Regions from separate parts of the Homo sapiens genome. Here all the other regions are linked to region 4. Evidence: promoter capture Hi-C in 16 types of primary human blood cells and fetal thymus (Javierre and others, 2016). All regions are on one chromosome and are shown on one strand. Each heading gives the region's core, a stretch centred on a gene start or on the middle of the fragment in contact. The rest is flanking DNA. Distances are from core to core; before and after follow the strand shown.

Evidence for each region. The method cuts DNA at HindIII sites, captures the fragments that hold promoters and counts their contacts. A CHiCAGO score of 5 or more calls a contact.
Region 1: a contact is called between a fragment that was not itself captured here and the fragment with the promoter of MANBA in region 4, in 5 of 17 cell types (erythroblasts, total B cells, neutrophils and 2 more). The highest score is 8.2, in erythroblasts.
Region 2: a fragment that was not itself captured here is called in contact with the fragment with the promoter of MANBA in region 4 in 4 of 17 cell types (naive CD4 T cells, M2 macrophages, fetal thymus and 1 more); the score reaches 6.2 in naive CD4 T cells.
Region 3: a contact is called between a fragment that was not itself captured here and the fragment with the promoter of MANBA in region 4, in 6 of 17 cell types (total CD4 T cells, fetal thymus, non-activated CD4 T cells and 3 more). The highest score is 9.4, in total CD4 T cells.

What each region holds. Positions count from the first base shown.
Region 1 is chr4:103,027,068-103,032,119 of GRCh38, forward strand. SLC9B2 (solute carrier family 9 member B2) reads right to left here. Exons shown (of 12, transcript NM_178833.7): 10 at 4,633-4,741; 11 at 1,680-1,816. Among named protein-coding and RNA genes, the nearest start is that of SLC9B1, 9.9 kb to the left of the region's middle. The HindIII fragment of the contact is 2,118 bases long and covers 2,722-4,839 here.
Region 2 is chr4:102,464,597-102,469,324 of GRCh38, forward strand. All of the region lies in intron 1 of NFKB1-AS1 (NFKB1 antisense RNA 1), which reads right to left. Among named protein-coding and RNA genes, the nearest start is that of NFKB1, 34 kb to the right of the region's middle. The HindIII fragment of the contact is 1,147 bases long and covers 1,729-2,875 here.
Region 3 is chr4:102,438,096-102,442,745 of GRCh38, forward strand. All of the region lies in intron 2 of NFKB1-AS1 (NFKB1 antisense RNA 1), which reads right to left. Among named protein-coding and RNA genes, the nearest start is that of NFKB1, 61 kb to the right of the region's middle. The HindIII fragment of the contact is 1,400 bases long and covers 1,339-2,738 here.
Region 4 is chr4:102,758,115-102,762,694 of GRCh38, forward strand. It overlaps MANBA (mannosidase beta), which reads right to left and starts at 2,854. Exons shown (of 17, transcript NM_005908.4): 1 at 2,604-2,854. The coding sequence starts at 2,780. RefSeq lists an enhancer at 2,449-2,798 and a silencer at 2,889-3,018. The HindIII fragment of the contact is 23,862 bases long and covers 1-4,580 here.

The DNA of each region.
Region 1 (5,052 bases), core at 2,531-5,030, 270 kb after region 4:
CTGCCCTTGCATGGGAACATACTGATGACTCATTTGTACTTATCTGTGTAAGGTAGGGTTACATAAATATCAGTAAAATACATTTCAAAACACAAAGCAAATCCAGAATCACAATATTAATTAAATATAACATAAAGTTCTATGTACTAAATTTTTCCTGAATAAAGATGGAAATTACTGGTCATCTCCTTTTATCTTTAGGAATGTGGAACTAAAAAATAAGATGAAAAACATGCAGTGATACCTACTGAAAACTGTTAAATTTTAAATAAATATATATTACTTTAGAGCTTAAACTCATTGTCAAACGTCATGAAACATGAAAATAGTGGACACCTTGACAACTTGAAGTTGATCTTATTAGGTATTTGGTCAACTCCTTGCCACAGAATTTGGTGAAATGTTTTATTTGGAATGCATCTGTTGGAAAACATTATGAAAATTCTCAGTTTCTTTTAGAGGCAAAATGCAATATTATCAGTGCAGATGGGAAAAATGTATTAATTAATCTGGTTATCCCTTATTCCACAGAGAACAATGTAAGCCTCTAAGACAATGAAAAAGAAAAATGTGCATCAGAAACAATGGCAGAAACTACTAGTTGCTCACAAAAACATGAATGACCCCTTTCCCTTCTATAATAGAACTCCTGGAGTTTGGCTGGTCACATTGCTGTCCAGAGACCTTTTTATAGAACTCTTAGCCATTATGTTTTAGACATTTTTGAAAGTCTGATAGGGGTGAGGGGAATTCTGGAGTAATGCCCAAATGCAAAGAGCATAATTGAAATCTGGAATATAACTGCTGAGCATACACATCCCCCAAAGCCTCCTAAATGAAAAACACTTGATTTTAATTCCTTAATAACAGAAATTGGAATATTTAATTATAAAATAATCTGGGGCAAAACAGTTAAATGTTGTTTGATGTAATTAGTCTGAAAATATACAACCAAAGATACATCACATTTGCAACAAATCATAATCTATACAGTTCTAACTTAATTAGCAATCATAGATATTCTAACAAATGCATGGTCAACAAATTCAAGCACCTATCTATAATAGCTTTATTTATCACGTTTATTAGAATGCACAAATTTTCGGTTAAGTGATTGAGACATTTGCCAGGAAGTTCAGTGAGTTTTGAATAATTAATACCAACTAATAATCTAGGAAATCAATAAAGTGCTTTCTGAGTTGTTTTTCAATAAATCTTTTCTCCATTACATACAAAGACTCTGGTCAAGCTCAACTGATCATCAATCATATTAACATTAAAATATCTCCAAACATTAAGGGAACCATGTTATTTCTATTTTACTCTCTTCTTGGAAGCTATTAACATGAAAAGAGTTAAGAACTCTTTCCTTGGGTGACTTACAGAGTGCCGACTGATGAAAACTCTTCTCTCCTGTTACTACTGCTTTCTAGTAGAATAGGGATTTACTGGATTTTTACTTATACCCTGGTGATCTAAGGAAATTTAATGAGCTATCACATTTAAGGAATGAATATACCAAAAATACAGGTTTTAAAGAATAGATTAGGATAAACTCTTTTCATAAATCCACTTCAATTATTTATTTTCACTAAATTTAAACAAGCCCTCTTATTCAATATTTCAAGGTGTCATGCAGAAATAGCAGTTAAAATGCTAAGCCATCCTATCCATCATACCTGAACTGTGGCCTTTGGAAGCCATGCAAAAGAAATAAATATCTTTTCTTTTAAGTTAAAACCAGCAAAACACACCATCAGAAATGTAGTCAAAATTCGTATCAATACTGCAATGCCTACGGTGGCAACACAAAGGCCTGTAAGAAATATTCAATTTTTAGAAATAATAAAATACTAGGAGAGAAACTGCATCTCATGGTTACTAATTCAAAATAACCATCAACAGAAATAATTTTTAAAGCATTAAAAATTACAAATACAAAAATGTTTAGGAAGAATATATAAAAACAATCAATATTAAGGATCAATCAGGCTATTTGTTTAAAATAAGGTGTTTCTGTAGATTAAAACCAGAAATTAAGCATATTTGAATTCTTATGTAGAGATTTGAATGTTATATATGTCTTATGCTTTATAGCAAGAACCATGCTTGTTCATGTGTGTAAGAAGAATTTATTAAATGATATGATTAAATGATAAGTAATAAGCTTTAAACTAAGTACTGTGTACACATAAATGTACAATGTATAGACTTTGCCTCAAAGTCAGAGAAAGACACATAAACAACCAATTCATAGACTATACAGTAAGTGAGGTATAAACAAACTAAGGGCATAAAAGAGGGAAAAACAATATTTTAACCCAAAAAGTCAATAATTCTTTACAGGGTATAAGACCAGAAGTGATAGCTAAAATATTTATGAGCCAGTATGGAGGGAATTAGCCAATCAGAGCTGGCTGGGCACTGACCAATCAGAATAGACACTGGCAGTCTACCACTGTTTCACCATACTGATGTGTACTGGTCGTACTGGTCCCAATTATCCCTGGTTAACATACACAGCTACTCCATTTAGTCCTGTAGAATTCTTTGCTGATAAAGACAAGTTCATCATCATTTGCCAAACAAGGGATTGTGAGTAGTGCTGCTACATGCTACTGGACCTAAGAATGATACAGCTAAGGTGACTCCTGAGTATTAGGGTGATTTTTTAAAAAGTAACATTTGTTGAGTGTTTACTCTGTGCCAAATGCTGTACTAAGCTTTAAATGTATTATTTTACTTAGTCCTTACAACCCGTGGAGTAAGTATTATTTTATAGTTGAAAAAACCAGAAGCTCAGAAAGGATAAGTAGTTTTCTCAAATTCAAAGGGCGGGTAAAACATCAGACAGACATAGCGGGAGGATCTATTGTAAATCTGCCATATGGCTTTTTTATGGGAAAGTTTTGTGGTTCTTTGTTGAAAGGTATTTCTTCAAGGTTGGAAAGTATTCAAAAATATCTGTAGCCTGAAGTACAAGATAAAGAGTTGATATCATTCCCAGAAGGAAACATTGAAAGTTTGAGAAGAGGATGAGAAGGAAGTTTTAGTTGAGTTTGAACGTTAACAGGACATACAAGTGGTGCTGTCCAATCAACAATTGGATATATTGATTTAGAGATAAATAGTTTGGAATTATACAGTTTATAGTTGATGTCACTAGTATAGATAAGGTTAGAGAAGTTATATAGAGCCAGAGGCACAAAGTTAGAAAGCAATTTGATAAAGGGCAGCATTTAAGCTACATATGGTGTAAGGAAAGGCTCAAACAGCACTGGGAAATAGGAAGTTTAAGAACTTAATATAAAGGAGTGTTAGAGGGTCAAAAGCAGCAAATGCTGCTGACAGATCAAGTAAAGCAAAGACTGGATTTAGCAATATTACCTTGGTGAGAGGCTGGCAGGTTGTGTGAGAGGTTGGCAGGTTGTGTGATAGGCAGAAGCTGGGCTAAAATGTATAGAAGGAGGAAATGGGAACTGAAGTGGAAAGGGGAATGTAGTGACCTCTTTTGAAAAGTCCGAAAAGAAGACAAGAGAGGTAGCATGGTAGAGACGGGGGGAAGTGAAATAGAGGAATTTTATATATATATAATTTTAACATATTATTTTAATATACATTATTTTAATTGTAGTAAAATACACATAACATTTACCATCTTAACCATTTTTATGTGTATAGTTAGTATCATTAAGTATATTCACACTATTATGCAACCAATCTCCAGAATTTTTTCATCTCACAGAATTTAAACTCTATACCCATTAAACAACAATTTCCCTTTACTCCCAGCCCCTGGCAAGTACCATTTATGAGTCTGACTACTCTGGATACCTCATGTAAGTGGAATCATACAGGGTTAGTCTTTTTCTGACTGGCTTATTTCGCTTAGCATAATGTTCTCAAGGTTCATCCATGTTGCAGCATGTGTCAGAAGAGAAGCATTTTTTTTTAAGATAAGAGAGATTGGAGACTAAATTCTGAAGAGAAGAAAATTGCGACATGGATATTTAAGATGTATGAGAAAAGGAAAGAATCCATATGCAAGATTCAGAAGGAGTAGCGGGAGATGGGATTCCTAGTATGGATGGAAGAATACTGTGATGGAAGGAAAGAAGGAAATAATGAGTACATATATACAAATTAATTTTTAAGTGCAGTGTTTTGAATCAACAGAGTTTTAATATGATGGCTTTTGAATGTAGGAATAAATAAAATAATTAATGAACAACAAGGCATTTCTATCCCATGGGTACAAACTATAGAACTAACTAGTTGTCTTTAAAATTCTCGCTCTTGTTCAGGACAAGGCTAGATGAATATTCTTACCCTTGGAAAAAGAATTGTTAAGGCCTGAATTTTCTGGGTAGTGGTCAGCAGTGTCACTTTCATATACAAGGAACAATATTAAATGTGTAAAATATACCATCTTAGATGAACAAGCATTATTTTCTAACCAACTACTCTAAAAAACTTACATCATAATTAACTTTTTATATAATTGTGACAATAGTAACCACTGTACACATACCTGCTGGAGATATTTCAATGAATATAAAAAGTAGACTTTATTGGTGAGTAGGCTGACCAAAAAAAGTGAATTTTAACAAAAGCACATTTTGAAATTCTTACCTACAGTTTCTGGTCTGAGAGATGCAATAGATACCTCTGCTCCAATTAGTCCAAAAAGAAGGGGCTGAAAAATGTCCCAGGCAACTGCAATTATCTTTTCAACCTCTGCCTAAAATAACAATAAAACACACACAGATTTTTATTATGTGAAGTTACAAATGCAAAGAATTTTATTAATTTGAGGTTTGAATTATTTGGCCTGAGATAAGCTTTATTTCTGTGCCATCTATAACTAAAAGGTTAGCTAGAACAGAGCAAAAAAACTGCATGAAGATCTTTCTATCACAGTTAAGATACATGAGGTGTTTTAGCATACTAAATATTAGTTTGCACATGGATATTAATAAAAAGATTCTTATAAAGTAATCTTATGAGGACTCCTACTTCTGAATACATCGTGTGTATGTGCATGTGTGTATA
Region 2 (4,728 bases), core at 1,052-3,551, 290 kb before region 4:
TCACCACTGAAGAAATTATTCATGTAACCAAACACCACCTGTTCCCCCAAAACCTATTAAAATAAGTAAATAATAAATCAATCAATAAATAAAATAAATAAAATTATGTTTGTTTTAGATGTGCTTTTTGGAAGCAGCAAAGGTTTTTTAAGCAGTTGTTTTTTAACCATATTTGGAGAACTCTGTTTTAACTGGGTAGTATAACTCATTTAAATTTATTATCAGGACTGATATCATTTGTGTTGTTATGCTATCTGCGGGTATTGTTTCTTTTTTCTTTCTTGCTGTTTTCTTTCTATTTTTCAGGTTTCTATGCCACTTCCTCTGTTTTCTGTCATTTGCTCTTTGGGTTGATTTTATCTTCTGCAGCTTTGGAAGATATCAACTCTCTTTTAAGTTCTATTGATATTAGTGTTTAAAAATTATTCTTTTTCATTCTTTACTAACTTTCACATAAGATTTTAAAAAGTAACTATCTTTTTGCTTTCTCCCAGTTCACATTTTTCTCACTTAGTCATAGTCTTTCTTCATGTTATCTGGACATTCAGATCCACATTAATGTGATTTGATTCTATATGTAGTTTTTCCACTGTCTTCTTTTAAGAACAATTTCCAATGTTTGCATTTCATTTTTACAACCAAACTTACAACAATTATTTAAATCTAATGCGATGGTTGATTTTACGTGTCAACTTGACACATATTTTTTAGTCTACTCTTACATTCTGCAAAACCTTCTCAAGTAAGTCCACCACATCACTGATTAAATTTTTTTGTTATAACAAGTCTGCTTTTACTAACTACATTGTTGATTTTAATTCTATTGCATTTTTCATTTTCATGACAATTTCCTCTTCTCTGGCAGCTGATTTTATCTCCAGCACATTTCTGTACATTTCACACTACTATGTCTTTAGGTTAATTTCTACTCTCCTCTTGGCTTTCTGTTCCAGTTTCATAAAGATTATCTTACTGTTTTAATAACTGCCAAGATGTTTACCAAAATATTTTCCTGGTTCTAGTAGTAAATCATTTAAAAAATATGTACTCCCTCTCTGAATCATCGGAGAAAAAAATCAGCTTTTCTTGTCATTTTCTTTTTAAAAGCATACACAGAAGTTTTTTTCCCTCTCCAATTCCATGAAAAAAGAATTTTTTCCATGTAAATACCAACATTCAAAGTCCATGATCCTACCTCACCCCTTAGGCTTTTCTTTTCTTTTTTTTTTTTTTTTTCTTTTTTGAGACAGGTTCTTGCTCTGTTGCCCAGGCTGTAGTGCAGTGGTACAATCTTAGCTCACTGCCGCCTTAACCTCCCAGGCTCAAGCCTCCCACCTCAGCCACCCAAGTAGCTGGGAACACAGGTGCATGCCACTATGCCTGGCTTATTTATTTATTTATTTATTTATTATTTATTTTTGTAGAGACAGGGTCTCAATTTGTTGCTCAAGCTGGTCTTGGACTCCTGGTCTTAAGTGATCCTCCTGCCTTGACCTCCCAAAGTACTGGGATTACAGGTGTGAGTCACTGTGCCCAGCCCAGCCTTTTCTTTGGAGTTAATAGAATTCTCTTTTTATGCCATTTCTTGGAGATAACTTGGCATGTAAATATTCTAATTAAATCTTCATGTCTTACAGGGCTTGAGTTGGGGTCTTCTCAGACCTAGGCTGTCAACTTCAACTTCTTTGAACTTCTCATCCCACAGAATATGTAAAATTAATGGTCCAAAGCTTTCCTAATATCTATGCTAAGTACATCTAGTTTCTTTTAGGACTGCACTTCTCTGTATGTAATGAGTCACTATCATTCACACTACCCTCTGCCTAACATGCTCGCCAAAACTCCATATATCCTGTTGCTATGATCTAAATGTTGATGTCCCCCAGAAAAACCATGTGCTGGAACCTAATGCCTAATGTGGTAGTATTAAGAGGTAGCGCCTTTTGAGGAAGTGATTAAGTCATAAGGATTTCAACCTAATGAATGGGGTCAGTGCTATAACAGAGCTGCCTTGCCCTTTCCACCACATGAGGACACAATAAGAAGGCATCATCTTTGAAGCAGGGAAGGAGCTAACATCAGACACTGAATCTGTTCATGCCTTAATCTTGAACTTCCCAGACCCTCAAAGGTTGAGCACTAAATTTCTGTTCCTAAACCACCCAACCTAAGATTTTTTTTATAGCAGCATAAATGAACTAAGATAGAAATTGGTACTGAGAAGTGGAGTGCTGCTTTAACAAATACCTAAAAATGTGGAAGTGGCTTTGGAACTGGGTAATGAGCAGAGTCTGGAAGGATTTGGAGGAAGAGGCTGAAAAAAAAAGCCTGTTTTGCTGGAATGGACAGTAAAGCGATATTCTGATATTCTGGTGAGGGCTCAGAAGAAAAGGAGAGCTGTTAAGAAACCTCAGTCTTCTTAGACTTTATCTAAGTGGTTGTGACCAGAATATTGACAGAAATATGGATGTTAAAGGCCATTCTGATGAGGTCTCAGATGGAAGGAACACATTGTTAGAAACTGAAGAAAAAACCATTCTTGTATAAAGTGGCAACAACTTGGCTGAATTGTGTTTATCTCCTAGTGCTTTGTGGAAGGTAGAACTTGGAAACGATGAAATATTTGGAAGAAATCTCTAAGCGAAGTGCGAAGAGTGCAGCATGGCTTGGCTTCTGTTGACTGCTTATACTAAAATATGAGAAGAGAAAAACTAACCAAAGATGGAATTTATAACAAACAAGGAAGTAGACCTTAAAGATTTGCAAAATTCTCAGCCTGGCCATGTTGTAAAGAATGAAAAATTGTGTTCAAGGCGAACAGCAAGGGTGTGGCCAAGTCACTATTTGAAAAGGATATTTAGTATGGATGGGCAGAAGCTTGCTTGCTTCTATTCATCAAGGCAATGGGAGAATGGGCCTGAAAACATTTCCGAGATCTTCAGCAGCTGCCCTGTCCATTACAGGCCCAGAATACCAGGGCCTTGAGAACAGAAATATTTCAAACTTCTGCCCCTCTCATTCTGGTGCAGCACTCCTTCAACCCCTCAGCTGTGGCTCAAATGGGCCCAAGAGCAGCTCAGGTTTCTCCTCTGTGCAGATGCACAGGCAGTAAACCTTGGTGGCATCTGCACAGTGCCACCTCACCAGAGTGCTTGAGCTGTGAGGACATGGCTACCTCCACCTAGATTTCAAAGGATTACCCAGAGAGCCTCAGAGCCACTGCAGAGAGTCCTCACTAGAGCAATGTCTAGAGGAGCCATAGAGGCAGAGTCTCTTCTGAGACCCCCCAAAAATAGAGCCACCAGCAAGCAACTCCAAACAATGACAACTACAGCATGGGCTGCACCCGGCAAAGCCATGAGGGCAGGGCTGTTCAGACCTGTGAGGCCCAGCCTCTACCCCTGTGTGTCTGGAAGATGAGATATCAAGTCAAAGAAGATTATTCTGGAGTCTTAAGGTTTAACGTTTGCCCTATTGGGTTTTGGATTTGGTTGGAACCTGCTATCCCCTTTTTAAAAAAAATCCTTCCTTTTGAAATGGAAATGTCTATCCTATGCCTGTCCCATCATTGTATTTTGGAAGTATATAACATGTTTGATTTCACAGCTGGAGAGTAACTTGCCTCAGGATAAATCATACCTTGAGTCTCAGCCATCTCCGATTTAGTTGATATTAAGATGAGACCGAGTTTTAGACTTTTGAGTTGGTACTGGAACAAGTTAAAATTCTGGGGGCTATTGGGATGGAACAAATATATGCTCCATGTGAGGGGGCCATGAATTATAGGGGGCCAGGAACAGAATGTCATAGTCTAAATGTTGACATCCCCCCAAAATTCACGTTGAAACCTATTATCTAATGTGATAGTATTATGAGGTGCAGCCTTTTGGGGGAGTGATTAAATCACAATGGCTGTGGCCTCATGAATGGGATTAGTGCCCTTACAAAAGAGATGGAAGTGCACTGCCTTACTTTCTTCTATGTGAGGACACAGCAACAAGACATCATCTCTAGATCAGAGAGTGAACCCTTTCCAGATACTGAGTCTATTGGCACTTTAGTCTTGCACTCCTCAGCCTCCAGAAGTGTGAGCAATAAATTTCTATTGTTTATCCGTTACTCAGTCTATGATATTTTGTCCAGAAGAACTAAGAAAACTGTCTTGTTTTTTTCTAAATGAATATATAAAGATTACAGTTTTAACATGGATATATAAAGACAGATACCAATGGAACAAGACAGGGTTTGAACAATCCTCTGAATACCTCAAAAATAATGCCTGGGTTGTAAAGAAACAGCCCTCGTCACTTTTTATTCATTGGTAGAGAATCAAAGTTGTATTTGAGAGGGGAGCTGTTAGTAGCTTTCTCTACCTACTTGCAAGATGTAGGTATATTCCATTTCAAGAGGAAAAACAATAAAATACAAACAGATCAAAACCACTCATACTGGCCATGAATTGTGAATGGTGTTATTATTATTTGAATAACCTTAAAAAACTGTCAGGCTTAGTTTTCAATGTTATGAGTTTTTATCCTCTTCTGTGTCTTCATAAATATACATATATTTTGAGACAGGGTCTCACTATGCTGTCCAGGTTGGTCTTAAATTCCTGTGCTCAAGCGATGCTCCTGCCTCAGCCTCTGGAGTAGCTGATATTATAGGCATCCGTAAATATTTTTGCAAGGAATTCAGAGAGTTACTGAAACAATACCTGCTAGCCAGATG
Region 3 (4,650 bases), core at 789-3,288, 320 kb before region 4:
GACTTTGTGATAATGAGTAAGTTCTTACGAGATCTGGTTATTTAAAATTGTAGGGCACCTCCCCGCACCTTGCTCCCACTCTCGCCATGTGATGTGCTTGCAAAGCTCCCTGAGGCCCCTGAGAAGCCCAGCCAAGATGCTGGTGCCATGCTTGTACAGCCTGCAGAACCAAGAGCCAATTAAACCTCTTTTCTTTATAAATGACCCAGTCTCGGGTATTTATAGCAACACAAAAATGGCCTAACACACCACCTCTCCTAAGTACAAACACAGTATCTCTGAATTTTTTAGACTAAGAGATTAAGACCCAGAAGAACAGGAAAATTTCTTTTTCCCACCCATGTTAGTCGAGTTCGAAGAGGGGAATTTCTTCTTCCAACCATTGTTAGTCCAGTTCCCAGCTAAGAATCTCCTCTTCTCCGAGTGGCTGACCTCAGGGATTAGCACTCCCTTGACCAGAGATGATGTCTACCCACAGGGGTGTGGCCTCCCAGTCTCTACAAAGTCTCACAATAAAACTGACTAACCACCTTTACTCACACAGAAGACAGACAAAAACAGTATACAAATGTGTATTTTGTTATATCCCCAAATCCCATTGTTACAGTGTGACACAGCATAATAATTATTAAATATTTTCCTTTTCAGAGGAACACTTCTTATTCTAATCTTTAGTTCACCCTGCAGTAATGTTGGGGAACAGCTGTGGAAAGAGGAAATAATCCTTCTGTTCCCCACCCCACCACCTCTATCACTATTAAACACATTTTTGTTTTCAGATTCACGAATTTCTGAACATGTATTCTCCATACAGTTTTACAAAGTGACTCTTTTTTTCAGCTCTTGAAATTAATACCTCTTGAATTTAGTATGCAAACATATGCAAGTATTCTGGAAATGCAACAGACCCCAGATGACTAGCTAAAGCTTAGAGACTGTATGACAAAGCACTTTGAGCTCCCCAGACACATCAGGGCCTTCCCAGAGAGTGGTCTTCCCATGCTTGTAGAGTTGGGTTAACATTTCCTTTGGGTAATTTGAATACTTCAACTTCCTCAGGCTGCAGGTCCTAAAGCCTTTTGTATACAGGAAGAATGGTTTACTACTTCTTTGAGTTCTGGCTTATTAATTATAGCAATTATTTTGTTCACCTATACAGCATGTCAAACTGTTATTTATCTGCTTAATCAGCACATCAGGAAATAAAAAGCCATTGCCTGTGTAAGAAATACTGACCTGATGAAATATCTTGGAGGCATTCCTCAGTACCAATTAAAATAATAGACATTGTCACATGGTGCAATTATTTTCCAGAAAACAGCTGACGTGTACACACTAAGCTTGGCAAAATTCCTGGCTAATTTCGCAAGAATGTTTATTCCAAACTGAGATCATCTTTTTAAAAAAAGAAAAAAGACACAGACAAAGAGGGTAAGGAGGGAGGGGGAGATGAAAGTGGAGAGGCAGAAAAGGAAGGGTAGGAGACAGAAAGGAAGGAAGGGTCGAAGGGAGGGAGGAAGAAAACAAATAAGGAAGGGTTCTTCATAAATCAAGAGAAGATGTTAGATTTTAAAGTCGTCTTTTCTCTATCTGACCAGATATCTACCTAATCCTGCAACGAAATTTTATTAATTACAGAAGAGGTCAAATATTTCATCTTTACCAGAGATTCATTAATTTAAAATGTTCTAACCTCAAATTCACATTACAAAATCATAGCATTAGGTCTTTTTCAGATTTTAATAATTTCCCTAATTAACACAAATGATTTTAAAGGAAATTAATCAAGAAAAACTTTATTTCAGAGAGGTTCATGGAAGAGGAAAATATAGAGTGAACATTTACAAATAAAAACAAACATTATAGAAATGCAGAGTCATGACTGATGCATTCCAACCTTGTGCATGTCTGGAATACATCTGCAAATCATCTGCTCAGCCTTCAGAATAGTCTGTACACACACACAGATACAGCCACACATACACCCAGAGAAACCCAGGCATTGTCAAGCCTGGAGGAAGCCAATGTTGACATGTCAGTCCTTTATCTGGTAAGAAAGAAGCATGAACTGCTCTATCACACTTAGTTTGTTTCTGATTTCTGGATCCTACTAAAAAGCAAGGAGGATGAAATTTTTTTTCTTTTCTATTGATTCAGAATCTGGAATTTTGACTACAAAAAAATTTTTTTGGAAATCTTGCCATTAGTCTAAGGCAGGGGGTTACTTAGGGGTTGAAATCTATTAGCTGCTAATGTTTTTGGCTTAGTGAGAATAACAGGATTTGGGGTTCTGAAGGGAAATAGAGTTTGTAGCTTGCTTAAAACTTACTGTAGACCCCCAAATATTAAGATTTTAACATTTGTATTATTAATGATAATATTATTCTTTTTAAATCTGCGTACTGTTTTTCTAAATGTTGGGTTCTAGAGAAATATATTTGAATAGCACTTGCAACTTCCATGAGTTTCTTACCAATAGTAAAGTTATATGGTAGGAATCCCAGATAATGGCTTCACAACTCAATTTGGAAGATTATGTATAGTTTAAAGATGTTATGCTAAGTTTGCTTTAAGTGCTCCATTCAGCAAACTATGTGCAAAAAATGCAGATAGAATGATGGATAGTTAGATTAAATTATCGACTTTCTGAACTTTCCAGTTCTTACTCTGAAAGGATTTCAATTAAGGGGAAGAAGTAGTGTAGTCTTAATATAAAAGTATGAAGTAGGTTATAAATAAGCTTTTATTTTGTGAGTTTCTAATCAATAAGCTCATAATTCATGGTAACTCTTTTAGGCTAAATAAGATTATCAACATCATGACATTTTCTCCTTGCTAGATCTTCATTTTATATAGAGATTCTTCCCTTAGGAATAAAAAAAATCAGAGAAAAAATTTCATTATATATTAGGTACAGTAAATGAGTGAATTATAACTATACCTTTATTAACATTTTAGTTGTATTACAGTCAACAAGGAAAAAATGGTCTAAGGAGATACATTATGTTTGCAATGTTAACTCTTTCACATAACCAGTCTCTTTTTTTTCCCCTGAGTAAATGCATTTTATCACATTTTCTTGCAAATTTGTATCTTCTTTTCTTCCCTGCACAAGAAAAGTTTAACCCACTTACATTCTTTAAGAAAGCATTGATGAGACTAGAAATGATCAGTATTACAGATGTCAAATTAATGTAACATATTCCTTCAATCCAACATGCATTGAGCATCTACTACATGCCAGGTGCTCTGTTAGATGCTGGGGATACAAGTTAAATAAGATGCATAGGCCCTTAACTCAAGGAGGTGGCAATCTATTGGAGAAGATACTGACAAACAGAATAAAATGTGAGCTTTTTATTGTGGAAGTATAGCAGTTGGAACTCTTTGGTTGCAAATGACAGAAAACATGATTCAAACTGGCTTAAACAACAAAGAAATGAACTGGTTCACATGACAAAATTGGAGAAGGGGGAATGGTACATACAGCGTATCTCAATCCAGAGATTCAAGTGACGTCACCGGGATTGGTTTGTGCACCTATCTTAGGTCTACCTTCATCTGCATTGGATTTGTTCTCAAGCTCCAGTGAAGACTGGCAACTCCCAGCTCATTTCTTACTATGTATTATTTGAGGAGATTACTCTTTTAGTAACTCACATTGACAGAAGGGTCAGATTTGTAGAAGTTAATAATGCATCTTTATTTTGTCTTTCCTTTCCTCTTGGTTCTGCACTTCTGCTTTCCAGAATCATATTTCTAAGTAAACTTCCGGTACATAAGTCTTTGTCTCAGGCTCTGCTTTGGAGAGACCCAACCTATGACTGGGATGTTATTCCAGCACACATTAACCCCTAAATTTGCCCCGATCTATTATTGCAGACTCCCAACAACCATGCGTCTACAATGTAGTCATGGTCCCCTGGTCATACCTGATAAAACTAGGGAAAGAAGCCTAACAGACAAGGTGGGCAACTCAGAAATTTCCCCAGGGGTTGATGGGAAATGGACTGAGGAAAAGTTGTTCTCACTGTGGTGGACGAAGCTTAATGACTCGCTTTGCAACTTTACTGGAGCACATTCAGTGAGCTGATGGTCAGAACTGAGGAACTTCATCCATAAGCAGTTGTCAAACCATTGGGAGTTGGAAATAGACCACGGTGAAAGTACCTACATTAGAAAAATCAGCAACTGTTACAAATCCAGTCTTTTTCCACCCAGACAGCCAATTTGCTAGCACACCACTGCCTTCTTCCCTTTGTAGTATTCTAACACCTGAGAAAGGATGAGTGCCTTTGTTCTGTTTACAGAGCAAAGTACAGATGAAGCAATACGGGTCAGGCAAAATCAAATAATCTCCAAACTAAGAGCTTTGTTAACTCCTGTTGGGGCACACAACTTTGGGCTGAGGTCTCTCCTGAAATGAAGACCTCGCCTGAAACGAATTCTTCTTATGAAATAATTTTCTCTGGGCCCACAGGGCAGGTTCCAATTGATCTAGTAACCTATTATTGGGCTTAGAAACTAAACTGAGCTTGCCAGAGACCATCTTTGGTCTGGTCTAGTTAGTACCAGGAGACAAAGGACAAGTGACAACACAGGTCCACGAATTAACAAAAGACAGGAGAGACATGGGACTGTGCCACCCAC
Region 4 (4,580 bases), core at 1,604-4,103:
TGCTTTCCAACCAGCCTTCACTGTCTCTTCCTTTAACCTGCTCAATTTTTCTTCAGTGTGCCACCTGCCTTACATTATTTATTAATTTGGTATATATGTCTATCTCCTCCATTAGAATGTCCATTAGGGAAAGGACTTTGTTTTCTTTACCACTCGATTTCAAGTACTTAGAATAGTGCCTGCCACATTAGAGGTACAAAATAAATATGAGATAATTAACTAGGTGAATAGATAAATAAATGAATGATATCACCAAGATATGTTTCAAGTTCTTACACAAACACAATATTTGGCCCAGTGTCTACTATAAACGGTAGAATATTTCCTCAAGTCAACACCAAAAAGGGATGTTATAATAAAGCAGGTCGGACAACAGTCTCACATTACTGAATAACGATACTGATCTGATGTTGATGATTGCTTCTTTACTTTTTTTCTTTTTTTTTTTTTTTTGAGAGAGGGTGTCACTCTGTTGCCCAGGTTGGAGTACAGATCACGGCTCACTGCAGCCTCAACCTCCTGGGCTCAAACGATCCTCCCACCTCAGCCTCCCTCGTAGCTAGGACCACAGGTGTACGCCACCACGCCCAGTTAATTTTTTAATTTTTTGTAGAGACAGGGTCTCGCCAGTTGCCCAGACTGGTCTAAACTCCACCTACCTCTGCCTCCCAAGTGCTGGGATTATAGGCATGAGCCACTGTGCCCAGCCTGATGATTATTTTCAACAGGCCTTGTGTTTCCTAAGCCCCAAAAGCCTTCCCATTTCTCATTCCACTGCCATTTGAGACCCATGGCCACCTGATTGAAACCTCAAGGTTTTGCTAAGAATTTATGAAGAGAGTTAAGAAATCTCTTCAAATTGTTCCTATGAGGAAGTTATTTCATACTATGAGCAAATTCATTTTCATTAAGTATCTGTTGTAACCAAACGTTGTTTCTTAGCTTCTTAGCTCTGTAATATGGCACAATAATCTGACTTACTGAAGCCACTCATTATTTCCCATTGGCTTAATTCTTTCTTTCTTTTTTTTTTTTTTTAGAGATAGAATCTCTCTATGTTGGCCATGCTGGTCTTGAACTCTTGGCCTCAAGAAATTTTCCCACCTCGGCCTCATAGACTCTTTCTATGTTGGCCATGCTGGTCTTGAACTCCTGGACTCAAGGGATCCTCCTACCTTGGCCTCCCAAAGCTCTCACGTACCAGCACCCATTGGCTTAATTATTTCAGTAAAATCAGGCAAGGAGGAACCCTACAAAATAAACACAGGCATTCTCAAAGCAGATATAAGTGAAAACTCAGAGTATACTGTGGTCAGCTGTGTTCTCTATCACAAGTAGTTTGTCAACTTAAAATAAAGTACTAAAGTTTGGGAATGATCTACTCTAAAAATACATCGGACAATGGTCAATGTCATTTACAACATTCACCTCCTTTCTGATACACATCTCAGGAAAAAAAAAAAAAAAACTACTAAGTACCAGGTCAGAAATTTGGCACAACCCTAGATGACCACCTTGTCATGCAAATAAACTTAGAATGGTGCTCCTGAAAGTCAGCCACAGTGCTTCAAAAACACATGATTTTTTAAAACACCAAACTAAGCATACCACATAGTATAGAGACCAGGCTATGGAGTTGAGACCACCTGGGTTAGAATTCCATTTCTTTCCATTTAGTTGCTGTCACCTTCCTAATTTCTCTGTGTTCCATAATTCCATATTATCCATAAAATTCAGATATGAACACTTACTATACAGAGTTGTTATGAGGATTGGACAATGTATGCATCCCACAAGTAGATCAATTACAAGTACATTTTGCCCCAAGTAAAGACAACACGTGGGAACGCTGTGCAAGAGGGAACAGCAAAAGCAGTTGGAGGATGGAAGTCAGTTTGCAAACCTATGCGCACAGGCAGCCAAACACGAAAACGTTCCCCACAAGTAGTCTGTAAATTGGAGACTCCATTGGGATACACACACACACACACACACACGCCCTGAGAGGAAATAGCACCTTTCTTCATCACCAAGTTAGCCTTAAAAATTATTTACCCGTTGTTAGCCACACTAGCACTGACAAACCCAACTTTACTCTTGTAGGTCATTCTCCACAACGTCTGTGCTGCGTCAATCCCAAATCTGACTCCCTGACGCTTAACAGCGAAAATAAAAAACCGAGACATTACTCAATAGAGTTAACCCTTACTTAACAAAACGCTGTTGTCCCCTGTGGCGTGCAGACAGTAGAGACAGTAATTCCCGACCTTATGCTTGTCAGTGACGGCATGCCCTTTGTATACACGCTTCAGTAGAGAACGACTGCAGTAAGTAAACTGCTAGTAGCAACACTGTTCCCCTATCTAAACTTCCCCTTTCCAGAGTTACTGATGTCCCAACATGGGTCGGTCGCTCAGTCTCCGTCAAGCCCGTACCCCATAGCTTGGGCATTTCCCCCCGCAGATCACAAGATGCAAAGGGGAAGTTACTACCAAACCGACGAGAATGGCCCAGAGCTGGGGGCTGCCAGGCGGTTCCTGGGCCCCTCTCAGCACCAGAAGAAGGCGGGCGCAGGCTCGCCGCGGGTCGGCCGCACGCCATACCTGGATCAGGCCCTGCTGGAACAAGGCGCTGTGCACGCAGCCAGGGACCGCCCCGGGCAGCTCCAGCGAGCCGTTCCCATTGCAGATGCTCCAGTTGCCACGCAAGCTGTAACTGAGCTCCGCGGCGGTGGTGCCTGCACCGCACAGCGCGAGCAGCAGGAGCAGGTGGAGGCGCATCTTGAGATCCCGCGCCACCGAGATGTGGAGAGATCGAAAGGCAGCGCTGCAAGGGACCGGCGGTGAAGCCACTCACCCCCTCGGAAGTAGCCGAGGCTTTAGGTCCCCGCCCCGGCCCCGCCCCTAGGTCAGCTGAGCGCTCTCCGGGCGCAGCCGCGGGCGGGAGGGGAACGAGGAGGCTGCGCCTGCACCCGCTGAAAGCCGGGCGTCGCGGGTGCGGGAGCTGCAGCCCCCGAGAATAGCTACAGGCTGGGGGGCATTGCGGTCTGAGCCTTCCCTCGGCGCTTCTTCCCGCCGCCTCAGTACATACAACTGGAGGCAAGAATCTTGCACGGTAATTGGGACAGAAAGATCCCTGGGCGCGCAGTGGCACAAAGCCTCGGGAGATCAGAGACCGACTGTACGTGGAGACCATAGCTGGAGAGTCCCCTCACTCCTTCAGAGAACCCAAACTGGGAGACAACCCACCACTTCCCTTCCGCCAAATTTACACAGACCCTCGTCTACCTGGTAGCGTAACACTCACCCCGCTGCAGCTCAACTCGCGGGTCTCAGAGCCTACCCCGCCCTTCAAAGAGTAAACAAGTACTAGCAGTATCTCCATCAGAAGGTTGTTCTGAGGGCTAACCAAGAAAATGCGACTATAGCATGCAGCATGGAGCCTGGCCCAGAGAAGGCATTCACGTTAGCTATTGTTACTAGCGGCCTGCGTCCTTATGTTTCATAAAGCCCCACGGAGGTTTCTGAGGTTCTGGAACCTGCACTAGGCGCGCAGCTGAGTTTAAAATCCTCTGCACTCACTAGCTGTGGGACCTGGGCAAGCCGCAAAATCTCCATCTCCGTTTCTTGAAGTTTTCAAGGTGTTATAAGTATAAAATGAGTAAACATATGTGATCGTCCCTAACAATGCCAGAGTACCCAAGAAATACCACTGACTTATTTCGGGTCTTGTAGTCAAATGGTCTACCTGAGTCCCATTTTTGCAATAGGATGTAACAGTAATCCTAGAAGTTAAGACGGAATTTTACATTGCATAAAATAGACTGCCTTTCTCCTGTGTTGACGCTATCTGCCGTATATTTATGCTTCGGAAGAAGTCCTTGAAAAGAAATTTTCTCTCATCAAATCTGAGCTTTGTTTCGCCTTACAATGGCCTTGGAATTGCCTGATTCTGCAGACACCGGGCAATATCTTACTTTGCAAAGTCAGCATTATTTACAAGCCCTGAATATCTTGGCTTAAAGGACAGTATGGATTATCCAACCCAAGCCGCTGGCTTTACAGATGAGGGAACTGAGTTCAAAGAGATCGGGGCCAGGCGCGGTGGCTCACGTCTGTAATCCCAGCACTTCTGGGAGGCCGAGGCGGGTGGATCACTTGAGGTCAGGAGTTCGAGGCCAGCCTGGCCAACATGGTGAAACCCTGTCTCTATTAAAAATACAAAAATTAGCTGGGCGCGTGGTGGCACGTGCCTGTAGTCGCAGGTGCTCGGGAAACTGAGGCAGGAGAACCGCTTGAACCCAGGAAGCAGAGGTTGCAGTAAGCCGAGATGGCACTACTGCACTCCAGCCTGGGCTATAGAGAAAGACTCTAAAAAAAAAAAAAAAAAAAAGATCAGGTGACTTGCCTGTCACATAGTGGCAGACAGGATTAGAACCCTCCTCTTCAAGGTCCTACTGTCAGAGCCCAATGATGCTATAGGGGAAACGCTCTCACTGCTTCAAAGCCTTCCTCACTCACTCCAGAAGCATTTTTACCTTTGATAGAAACAAAGCTCTCAATTCAAATTATATGCCATAA